Linked DNA regions of Homo sapiens: region 2 is linked to region 1. The links are contacts of gene promoters, found by promoter capture Hi-C in blood cells and fetal thymus (Javierre and others, 2016). All regions are on one chromosome and are shown on one strand. Each heading gives the region's core, a stretch centred on a gene start or on the middle of the fragment in contact. The rest is flanking DNA. Distances are from core to core; before and after follow the strand shown. Region 1 holds the start of SMIM2 (small integral membrane protein 2). Region 2 overlaps SERP2 (stress associated endoplasmic reticulum protein family member 2).

Region 1 (5,663 bases), core at 1,901-4,400:
GAAGCAGGGGCCTTGCTGGCTGACCTCTCAAAGCCTCCCTTTCCCTTGTTCCCATGTGTAGCATTCTGTTTTGGGAGCACAGAATGTCCTCTGGTCTAGAGGAAGCTAAGCCACTGTTTGCAATCAGTCCAAGCAGATCAAGTTAAGGACCAGGCCATTTTGGAGGCACACAAGGACTCCTCTTGGCAGATGGGCACGACAGGCTTGCTTGCAGACTGAGTGGTGAACAGCCCCTTCCATCTCTTCGTTTGCTTGTATCAAATAGCAAATTCCAGAATCACTATACAGAGTGGTGGATGGGGCAATACAACTTACCCAAAATATTAATAGGCACTCATGAGGGCACCAGCTGTTGTGACTAGTCTGTGTCATTAAGGCCTGTGTGATGTCAACAGAGAAGCCATTGTTGGCTGGACCTGCCCCCACCAGCTCAACCAGGGAGTGTTTGTCAGTCACTTAGGAAGAGCTGCCTTAAAGGGTGAGTGTGGTTCTCAAAGGTGGGAAAAACTAACAATTCTTGAAGAGGACTCAAGGTTTATTGGACCACCAAATACTGGAGTTGATGCTGAAGTCTATAACAATGGTAACAATACTCAGGGTGTATCCATTGTGGGCCCAGCCAATGGATACTCTGGGGAGTATTGAGGGGAGGGGTGTTGAGTCCTTCTACACAGGCTCAGAAAGAAAGGTTCTTATCATCCACTTAGAAACAATGGAAGCAAAGTAACTCTCTGGGACAGAAACTTTGTCGGTCAGGGAGAGGCTTGAAGGAGACTCTAAATGGTTCCCAGAATGAATTCCCACGTAAACCTAAAGAATGCTGATGGAGAGAAGCCACTGCTCATTCTTCTTTTTAAGCCAAATAATATCCTTCTGCCGGAACAAAGTTGTTCTTGGCACTTGGAAGTAAATGTGAGGAGGGAATCAAAACACAACGCCTGAGAGACAAATCCATAAGAAATCTGAAGGCCAGGACGTGGTGAAAAGTAATAAAGATAGAAGGGTCAGTGGCAGGAACAAAGATTAACTGTACCAGAGGAGATGGCGCTTTGGCTCTGAAAATAGGATTGAGCGAAAGCCGGAAGTGCTGCAGAGACGCACGTGTCCTTCGTTTCCACCCTGAAGGCTCAAAGGAAGGCCGCTGCCCAGCCACGCGGAGGCTGCAGGACAGGGTTCTGGAAGCTGGGGCCTCCTTGCCCTAATCCTGGAAGGATATTCCACATCTAAATCACCGAAGCTTCATCCTGTGATGCAGAAGCTCTCCCCTTGTGAACAACCAACACAGGAAGTAGTGAAACCTGGTAGAGAGAATATTATCTTTCTCCACCTTCAATTATACCAGAACTGCCTCCAGGGACTTTGGCAGGTTTGACAAATGGCAGAAGAATTTAGAAGATTTTCTTTGCTGGCAAAGGGAGCCAATGGTTGGGCACAAATGTGCTGCTGCGGTTGTTTGTACAATGAAACTCTAGATTGTAGGCAGAAATGTCAGGTTCCTTTCAACTCTCTTCAGAGCTAATCTAGTTCCCATGTGCAAACTCAATCTATAGCATTTGGGTAAAGAATACTCAGTCCTCTGCTGTGACAAGAACAAATTCATCACCCACACCATACATTGTAGCTAAGGGCATCATCGTGCCCACATGAATCACCAGGCAGAGACGGCTGCCAACTCTGAAATTCTTTACTCATGGAAGACTCACGTATACTAATGCCGACTATTTACGCAAGCACATTTCTCCAGGTGGCCTGGAGCAGTTTACAAGATGCTGGCTCATTCCTCATCATGCCACTTGGAAGGAGAGCAAAAGGTGGGGAAAGAGGAAGGGCCAACATCATCATCTGCATTTTATGTGGGGAAACTGAGGCTCACATAAGCCGTAAAGTGAAATGTATAGACATTTATGAGTCAGAAATCGACCATGGAAGAGGCAAAATGAGCTTATCTGAATCATGAGTGGACTATTTCTTGCCCAACAATTTCATGCAGCTCTTCCAACACAACTGTTTTGATACAGCAGCCTCAAAACAAGCCAAAATTCAGACTCGCTGTATTTGGTTTATAACCAGTTTCCCATCTTTCATTCCTTCTCTGACTTCTACCTGACTTCTGAATTTGGTTGACCCTGTTTTTTTGTTTGTTTGTTTGTTTTGTTTTACTTTAAAAGACCCTCAACCCTCCTGGAGTCCTGACCTGCTATTTCTTTCATTTTGAACCTCTACCAGTCCTTTCCTTCATCTGTTACCAATCCATACACCCTTGATGCCTGGAGGTAAGATTGACAATGGAGGGGGGGAGGTGAAGATCAAGGTTGAGGTGAAGCTCACAGATGGCCTGCAAGATGCCTATTTTACTCATCATTTATTTTTTAAAAAGCTGAACATTTATCGGCTGAATCTTTGAGCCATACCAAAATATCCTCATGTCAAAATAGCTGCAGTAAAGTGGTTCTATTAAAATAGCTGCCTCCAAAGAACTGAGAGTGGAGATGTCACCTGCTTCTGGCACCTGACTTTGGTCCTCTTCTGCGTGGCATTGCCTTCTGCTCTGCTGGATTCTGGCGTATGGCTCATCAGAGGAGGCACTAACATCAGGGCTGCCTTTTATCTTGCTGATCCAAGCGAGGACTATGTAGGTGTCACAGATGAAACTCGTCCAGAAGCCGAACAGGATGCTAATGGCATGGCCACGTGTTTCCAGCACCCTGTGAGGCAGCTGGCTGGCATCAATCCTCTCCCCAGCTTCCATCCCACCCCCATCCACCCATAAGCTCTTCTTGGGTCAGAAATGCAATTCTTTGATGGTGCCAGACAGCCAGATGATGCTGGAAAGAAGAAAGAAAAAGAAAAAGCAGGTTTCTAAATTAAGCACAAGGCTCGTTTATAAAAATAAATAGCCACAGCCTAGCAACGTGCTCACAGCTCAGCTTTCCTCCGTAATAAAACCTCTGTGGCTGAAGCCTGGGATGACACAGCCTTCAGAGGGCCCCACGCCCTGGCCCTCCTCATGCCCTGGCCTCTCCCAGGATAATACTCACCTGGAGAGTGCTGACAGTGGTACTTTTGGGGCCCCACTCTTCATTCAAGGCCAACCAAAGGCCAGGCTCCAAAAAGCAGAAGGAAGGCAGAGCTTAATGAGGCCCATGAACACTTACAGACTCTTGGCAGTAACTAATACACCTGTAGCAAAAGTGGTTGAAGTTCCTTGGGCTACTCTGTTGAAATAGGAACTTCTAGTTAAGACCATGTCTTCTTTGTTCACCATTGAACAGTACTCAGCTAAGCACAGGGCACGTATTGAGTACTCAACCAGTATGTGAGGAAAGACTGGTTAGAGGTATAAATGAATGAATGAATGTTGCCATCCCATTATTGATGCTCTCCAAACTCTTCACTACAAATGGAGTCAGTTCCAGAATCCAAAGCCAGCATTCTTCTCCTGATTATGACATGCACCAAAGAGGCATCCCCTGAGCTGGATGTTTAAATCAGAGCCCACAGCTGAAGTGAGCACCAAGATGTACTGAGCAAGTGTGGACTCTTACTGATCCAAGTGGTGAGGCTCTTACAATGGGCAAGGGCAGAGGGCATGCGATATGTAGGTAACTATTGTTAGCATTCCTGAATCTTCTCCTGTTCTTTAGGCAGCAGCAGCTTCAAGGGTGAACTGTTGCTCAGCAGAGAAATGGCAGGAAAAAATAGGACATTCGCTTCTGGCCTTAGTCCTGTTGGAACACAAAAAGTGGAGTCTGCAATGCTGTTGGAGGCTCAACAGGTCAAATACATCAGTAATGGGCATGGTATGGCTGGGGTCATACGGAGACAGTCCTTAGAGCACTGAAAATGTGATCATCCTGAATCCCATAAGGATCCTTATGAGGTTAGAAGGGACAATGTGGCTCCACTTTGATGACTGACAGCAGTTGCTTTGGTGAGTTTCTACGTATTCCCTTGTGATCAGAGAGTGGTACAGGACAGCATGTCAAAATCGTAAACCACCATCTCAGAGCAAGGCCCCTTAGTTACAATATTAAAAAGATCAGAGAAATTGGCACATAGCATCATTTAGAAATCTGTCTTCAGGCATCTTTGTCTGGCCTGGCTGGAAATAGTAAAACCATATTTATGTCATTGAGAAAAAGGTTCTTAATTAAATTCAAATGTATAAGAATATATCGTAGGTCTATTTTTGGAACAATAATCTGGGAACAAAAAAAAATCTAAACAGCAACAAAACTTGTACAATAGCATTTAGCTTCAGACAGCAGCATACAATAGAGAAGAAGGAGTCCTCATAGACTCTGGACTCTTAGATTGATTCAATCCCACAAGCTAGAGCACCAAAGTCATGGCACTGGGACATTTAGGAAGAGGAACTCTAGCAGTGACCTGATTAGGAGACAGCTCCAGCAGAGAGTCAGCACATAGACTGGCCAAGCTGCCCCCAGATCTTTGGTGATATCTCTTTGGTGGAGATAAAGGAAGCCCTTTCCAAAGCAGACCAATTATGGCATCCACAACCATAGTCCCTGCTCCAGCCTAGTGAGGACACAGTATGTTCCATAAGTCCCTAAGGCTCTATGCCCAGGGCTCCCACTTCTGACACGGCTGCTCAAGGATAAGACCCCACTGACCCCATTCTCTATGGAGGGTACAGAAATCCATAAGAACAGAGCCCAATACTCAGCTCTGTGACCTTAACTACTTGGAAACTGATTTTCTTTGTTCATAAAATAGAGAGAGTAAAAATAATGCTTTCTATCTCCCAAGAGTGTACGAGGATCAAATGAAACACTATTATGTTCAAGTGCTTCCCAGTCTGCAAGCTATTGTTCCATGTGACCATGTTTTATAAAATGTAAAGGTATACAGTGAGAAGTTTGCTTCTGATGTGAGGATTGAGACTTCCTTTGTCACAAACTTTTAGGGTGCTGTCTGGTTCCATCTTATTCATAATACTATTTTTTTTTCAGAGACCCCTAGCCATTTCCTTGGCTTCAAATACCAAAGACCTAGCATTTCAAAATTGTGTTTCTGTAACTGCTTCTTTCCTCTTACAATCCCTCAGAAAGTGCTGCAATTCTAGAATGCATGAGGAACCTTGGGGCTCACAAAGTCCACCACTTCACTTTGCAGATGTACACACAGAGGCACAGAAAGTTTAGGCACTTGTCCAAGGTCACGTGTGGAGTTTCACTCACCCTATCCTCAGCTTCTCCCACAGCCTGCCAGTGTCTGCCCTCCAGTGGGTCTTTGAGGGCCACAATTCAGATTCCACTCTTCCGCAGCTGGGACATCCATCTTCTGCCCTCGGACATCAGAGCTCCTTGTCCTCAGGCCTTCAGACTCCAGGGTTTACACCAGCAGCATTCCCCCGCTGGTTCTCAGGCCTTTGGTCTTGGACTGAATTACACTATCAGCTTTCTTGGGTCTCCAGCTTGCAGGTGGCATATTGTCACTCCATAATTGCATGAGCCAATTTCTATAATAAATCCCTTCTTAGATAGATAGATAGATAGATAGATAGATAGATAGATAGATAGACAGATGGTAGATAGTAGATGCATACATACATACATACATACATACATATCCTATTGGTTCACTTTCTCTGGAGAACCTTGACTGATACAGATTTTGGTGCTACACTCCCTCAATACTGA
Region 2 (5,663 bases), core at 1,256-3,755, 220 kb after region 1:
ACCGGATCTGAACTTGGCCTGGCCTTAAGGGCCAAAAAATGGCACAGTTATCTTATGCAATTATTTAAGACTGATCTTGTCCTCGTCTGATTAAGAGCAGCCACCGATTCCTTTGCAGTGTGACTTGCCGGCATGTAAGTGGTGGTAGATACAGGCTTAGTCAAGGACAGAGAAGTGAATGTCTTAATCCTTAGTCAAAGTCTACCTGCCGTTGACACTTTAATCCATATTTCTCATGTAGGAGAGATACAGGGATAATCCTACACCAATTAGGAATTATTACTAAAAAGACAATATCCTTCCTAGAACCTGTGTTTACTCTGCCTAACCTAAGAAATCTTATTTAATGAAACTTGTATGTTTATTTGTTCTTTGATGAACGTTTATTATCTCCTATGTTTAAGTTCTGTGGCAGGCATTTCTATATATTACTACATGAACAAGACATAGTCCCTGCCCTTGTGGGGTCTGTAGTCTCATAGAGAGACAGATATTAAACACATTAATTATCACAAGAATAAATATAGACCTACAAACTGTGACACATGCTATCAAGAAAAAGTATGTGGCCATACAAGTGACGAGTGGACCCAAGTGAGGTAAAAGAGAAGGGCTCTTTGGTAAGCTGAAAACTAAAGAACTGTTGCCTTATCTATGATAAAATAAATTCCTTTTTTAGATGAGAAGCCAGTTTACATTTACATTAGCCTAGAACTTAATTTTACATATAAATACAACACATCATAGATTTTACAGTTTTAATATATGATAAATTTTCTAGGAAAGCAACTACAGTGAAAATCAAAGGAAGATTATCCTTTTTTAAAGAAGTTTTTGTTAGAAACATTACTAAAACTTGTTCAACATTTCAAAAACTTACATCCTTGATGATAGCACCACTCGTTTTTTTTGAAACACTATTACATACCTTCAGTCTGAATGTCAAGCTGTGGTATTTGTATGGATATGAACATACCTTTTAGCCCATATTTTACAATGTTGAATACAATGTTTAAATGTCAACAACATTTAATTGAAATCTGGAATTGGGTTTTATGAGATCAACCACAAATCAATACTTGTGAACATTCCACTCTACCAACACGTTTTTCTTTGTGTGTTTTGCATGTGAATTCTTTAACGTGTGTTGAATGCAGCCTATTTTTCAAGCTAATCAGAAAATAATTAGTGAGTTCTTTGTTGTTGTTTTTTTTTTCACTCTCCCATTCTATTTGAGAAATTCACTTCTTTTCTGATGCATCTCTCAGAAAATATTTGTTGTTCTGACTGATTTGGGTTTAAGGACCAAGCCCTACCTGCACATAGACCTGGAGGTGTTGTGGAGGGAAGATCTTATTATGTCTGTGCTTTTGGTTTGAAAAAGCAGGAGGTCTGTAGGGCTTCATTCATGCAGTTTTGACAGTCCCCTTCTGCTTCCCAGAGAATTCAGAGACTTCTCCCAAGTGCAAGCTTTATTAAGGCTTAGGAGCTTTATTACAAAATGCTGCTTCACTCATAACCATTCACAATTGCTGTGGTGCTTCTGTTGTTGCAAGGATTTCCACTGTACTGACTTCCTAATTTGGGGTTATGTAAAAGGTTTTCAGAAAATGTCTGTGCTCTCTGATCCTGCTTGGAATTCACAGATGCAAAAACTAAATATTGAATCTGTTAATGGAAAATACTCAGGCTTTATAATGAGGCAGACCTAAATTTGAATCCCAGCTCTTGCTCAAGTTAACAAACTTTGAGCCTCAGTTTCTCAACTCCAAAATGGAAATAATAATACTTGCCAGAAATAATGAATGCAGACTGCCTAGTGTAGTGCCTGGCACAGAGCATTACTCAGCAGATGGAAAGTTATTATTAATATCATTTTGGTTCCTAAATCGCCATATTGGTTTATGTATTCATACCATATCTGTCCCCAGAATATTTAAGACCACCAAGTTCACTGAGTTACAGGGATGTTAATAAGGTTATGGATGAATTTTTACAAACCTGTCTCAATCCTTTTAATGGACTTCATTCATCTATATCTGTCCACTGAGGGATTGAAACCAAGTCTGTCTCATTCGCAGTAGAATCCCCAGCACCTAGCACAATGCCTAGTGATACTCAAATAATTGTTTATTGAGTCAATGAACCTAATCTTACTTTTTCCCATTCCCTTTTAGAGGCCGCAAGAGGAGAAATATCCTGTGGGACCATGGCTGTTGGCACTGTTTGTTTTTGTTGTCTGTGGCTCAGGTATGGGTGTTTCACTGAACTTATATCCCATGTTCTCCACTGGCCTTTGAAAAACACACGTTTTCTTCACAAAGCAAATAGATGAAAAACATACTGGTATGGGATTCAAGTTTATCACTGCCTTAAGCCTTAATCTTAATGGGTTTTGATTTAGTTTCTATTCCAAATATAGGTAGAGACACAATTAATACACTATCAAATCCTAATCATAAAATGATTACACTGAGTAGTTAAAGTGGCTGTATACACTGTAGAGTTCAGTAAAGTCTTTTTGTGCAGACATAGCCTTAAAAGGGCATTAGAACAGAAGGTGAAACACCTGTGTGCCTGTGATAAATCCACATTCCGAGAAAGGGAGAGGCCTTATGCCTTATGAGAAAGTTCTGCAGAGCTCCTAGATACAACTTCCTAGATACAACTGAGCCTTTGACCCAAGCCTTAAGGTATGGGTCACCTGATACTGTAAGGTGGCAAGTTGAGAGCTTTACTTACACACATGCAGATACACACATACACACAAATGCAGGGAAGATGAGCAGAAGCATCGTGCCATTGTTTCTAGTTACATGCTGAACTAGCCTTGACATGGTTCCTGATCCCCATATGTTGGGTCTCAGAAATCCTTGTGAGTGGAGGTCACTTCTTCTAACTACACAGCATGCCTTGAGGGATTCCCACCCTCCAGCATCTCACTGTTACTGAGGGCAGGGAGGCAGAAGGTCCACATCTTCCTGCTCAGGCTTAGGCCTCCCAGCAAGACAGCCTCTGCCCCAATGACAAGAGAAGCCCATGACTAAAGATGAATCATGCATTCAAACCTAAAATCATGAAAATTAAAAAAAAAATTTAAGATGGATCAGTTCCTTTTATCTTCAAGAGACCACTCTTCCAAAGAAGCAAAAACTCTTAGGAGGAAGGAAGGATCCAAAGTACTTGGCATTATTGTTGCTTGTGGCTCAAATATTTTAAAGATGATTTGGCATTCCAAGATGAGAAAATCTTACACTCAAAGAAAGACAGTTCTACTCTATTCCCAAAGAAGTATCTTTAAGGACATCTTTTAAACAGCTGTTTACCCAATCCCTATTTGAATACTTCTTCAAAAAGCCTATTCCATGTCTGCTGGAATTCTATTAGAAATGTCTCTCCTGTTTTGAATTACACTATGCTGTCTTCTCAGTTGTTCAGATTTGAACTCCTAGGGTAACACAGAATGGACTCGTTCTCCTCTAAGCACCTTGAATCATCAGATATTTTAAAGATGACTGCCTGGTGGCTCCTTCTGCAAACTAAGCTTCCCTAAATCTCTCGACCTTGCCTCATAAGATGTGGTTTCTAGACTCCTCTTCTGGATCTGCTCAATGACTTTCTTAAAGGGTAGCATTTGGCAGCGCATGCCTGTAATCCCAGCTACTTGGGAGACTGAGGCAGGAGAATCACTTGAACCCAGAAGGCAGAGGTTGCCATGAGCCAGAGATCGCGCCATTGCACTCCAGCCTGGGCAACAAGAGTGAAACTCCGTCTCAAAAAAAAAAAAAAAAAAAAAAGCCAGGCGCAGTGGCTCACGCCTGTAATCCCAGCACTTTGGGAGGCCGAGGTGGGGAGGATCACAAGGTCTGGAGTTCGAGACCATCCTGGCCAACATGGTGAAACCCTGTCTCTACTAAAAATACAAAAAATGAGCTGGACATGGTGGCACGCGCCTGTAGTCCCAGCTACTCAGGAGGCTGAGGCAGGAGAATCACTTGAACTGCAGAGGTGGAGCTTGCAGTGAGCCGAGATCGTGCCACTGTACTCCTTCCTGGGCAACTGAGCGAGACTGCGTCTCAAAAAAAAAGTATAGCATTTGCAACTGCAGAAGGTGGTCTAGAAGCAGTGTGACCACCACAGAGGCAGTAGGATTGTCACTGCCCTTGATTTTGCTCACCACTCTGCCTCTATTAATGTGACCCAGGCTTGCAGTTACTTTTTAACAGTTGCAGCACATCCTTGACTCACGTCTAGCTGATGGCCAGCCAGATGCCACCCAGCTCTTCCTCAGATAAACTTCCTGCAACCCCGGAAACACATCTACATACCCCTTTATCCCAAGTCTCTCCTGTCTCCATCACATATTATTTTATTTTACTCATGACCCTCATCAGCAGTTGCAGTTATTTAGTTTACTTACTTAGGTTCATTTCCCTCCAGTAGGATATAAGCTCAGGGGAGACAGTGTTTATTTTTCATTAAATTTGTAGATCCTAGTTTAGTATTTAGCACATAGTTAGTGCTTAGGATGGATGGATGGATGGATGGATGGATGGATGGATGGATGGATGGATAAAGCCAGATATTCCTCATACTGTAGATATCTAGTTGACCTTTTTTGAGACCTAATATAAAACTTTATGACTTTTTTTTTTATTCTCAAAGAAGAACGATTACTTCTATTAAAATTTTAGGCTGGGCGCGGTGGCTCACGCCTGTAATCCCAGCATTTGGGAGGCCGAGGCGGGCGGATCATGAGGTCAGGAGATAAGACCATCCTGGCTAACACGATGAAGCCCCGTCTCTACTAAAAATACAAAAAAATTAGCCGGACCTGGTGGCAGGTGCCTGTAGTCCCAGCTACTTAGGAGGCTGAGGCAGGAGAATGGCGTGAACCAGGGAGGTGGAGCTTGCAGTGAGCCGAGATTGTGCCACTGCACTCCAGCCTGGGCGACAGAGCGAGACTCCGTCTCAAAAAAAAAAAAAAAAAAAAAAGAACAAAATAAAAACAAACAAAACTATGCCTTTATCATACCACAGGAAAATCAAGAAAATAAACCTGTACAAAAAAGTTAGCTATGTTTTCAGGCTGTATGACCAGTCTGTAGATTGTCAGACCTTGAACTTTAAGCCTCTGATCTACTTACCCTTTTTTCCCAGTGTTATGGTCCCTGAAAATATATTATTCTTCCAAGTCACTGATAAAAGTCTAGACTTGGAGAAACCCACAGAACACAATCAGAGACAACCTCTTTCAGGTTGACTTTGAGCCTCTAAGCAAAACTCATTCAAGCAATCATCATGTCTTGAGGGTCCCCTCTGTGCCTGGCACTGTGCCGGGCTTTGGAAATACAATCCTGTTTGGGTACTTGCAGGCATTGGGAGAGGCAGATAAGGAAGCTGTCAGTTGCAGCCCAGGGAAAGCGCACTGCGATAGTGACAGCAGAGTTTACAGGGTGCTTGGCTGGCATGGATAAGGAACTTCTAAATCATACTCAGCAGAAGAGAAAGTTTCCAAGGGGAGGTGCTGTTTGAGCGGAGTCTTGAAGAACAAACAGCCAGACAAAGGGTGTGAGGAAGGTGATTCTGCATGGGAACACTATGTGGCGGTGGCATGGTGGCTTCAGAGAATGTGCTGGGCTCAAGAATATAAGGTGCTCAGA

What was found. Contacts are between HindIII fragments. The CHiCAGO score rates a contact against its expected background, and 5 or more counts as called.
Region 2: a fragment that was not itself captured here is called in contact with the fragment with the promoter of SMIM2 in region 1 in 1 of 17 cell types (total B cells); the score reaches 5.0 in total B cells.

The regions. Positions count from the first base shown.
Region 1 is chr13:44,158,107-44,163,769 of GRCh38, forward strand. SMIM2 (small integral membrane protein 2) reads right to left here and starts at 3,151. Exons shown (of 3, transcript NR_197392.1): 1 at 3,039-3,151; 2 at 2,497-2,825. It overlaps SMIM2-IT1 (SMIM2 intronic transcript 1), which reads right to left and starts at 116. Exons shown (of 3, transcript NR_046843.1): 1 at 1-116. RefSeq lists an enhancer at 1,083-2,282. The HindIII fragment of the contact is 6,510 bases long and covers 1,236-5,663 here.
Region 2 is chr13:44,377,464-44,383,126 of GRCh38, forward strand. It overlaps SERP2 (stress associated endoplasmic reticulum protein family member 2), which reads left to right. Exons shown (of 3, transcript NM_001010897.3): 2 at 2,178-2,250. Among named protein-coding and RNA genes, the nearest start is that of SERP2, 6.5 kb to the left of the region's middle. The HindIII fragment of the contact is 2,074 bases long and covers 1,469-3,542 here.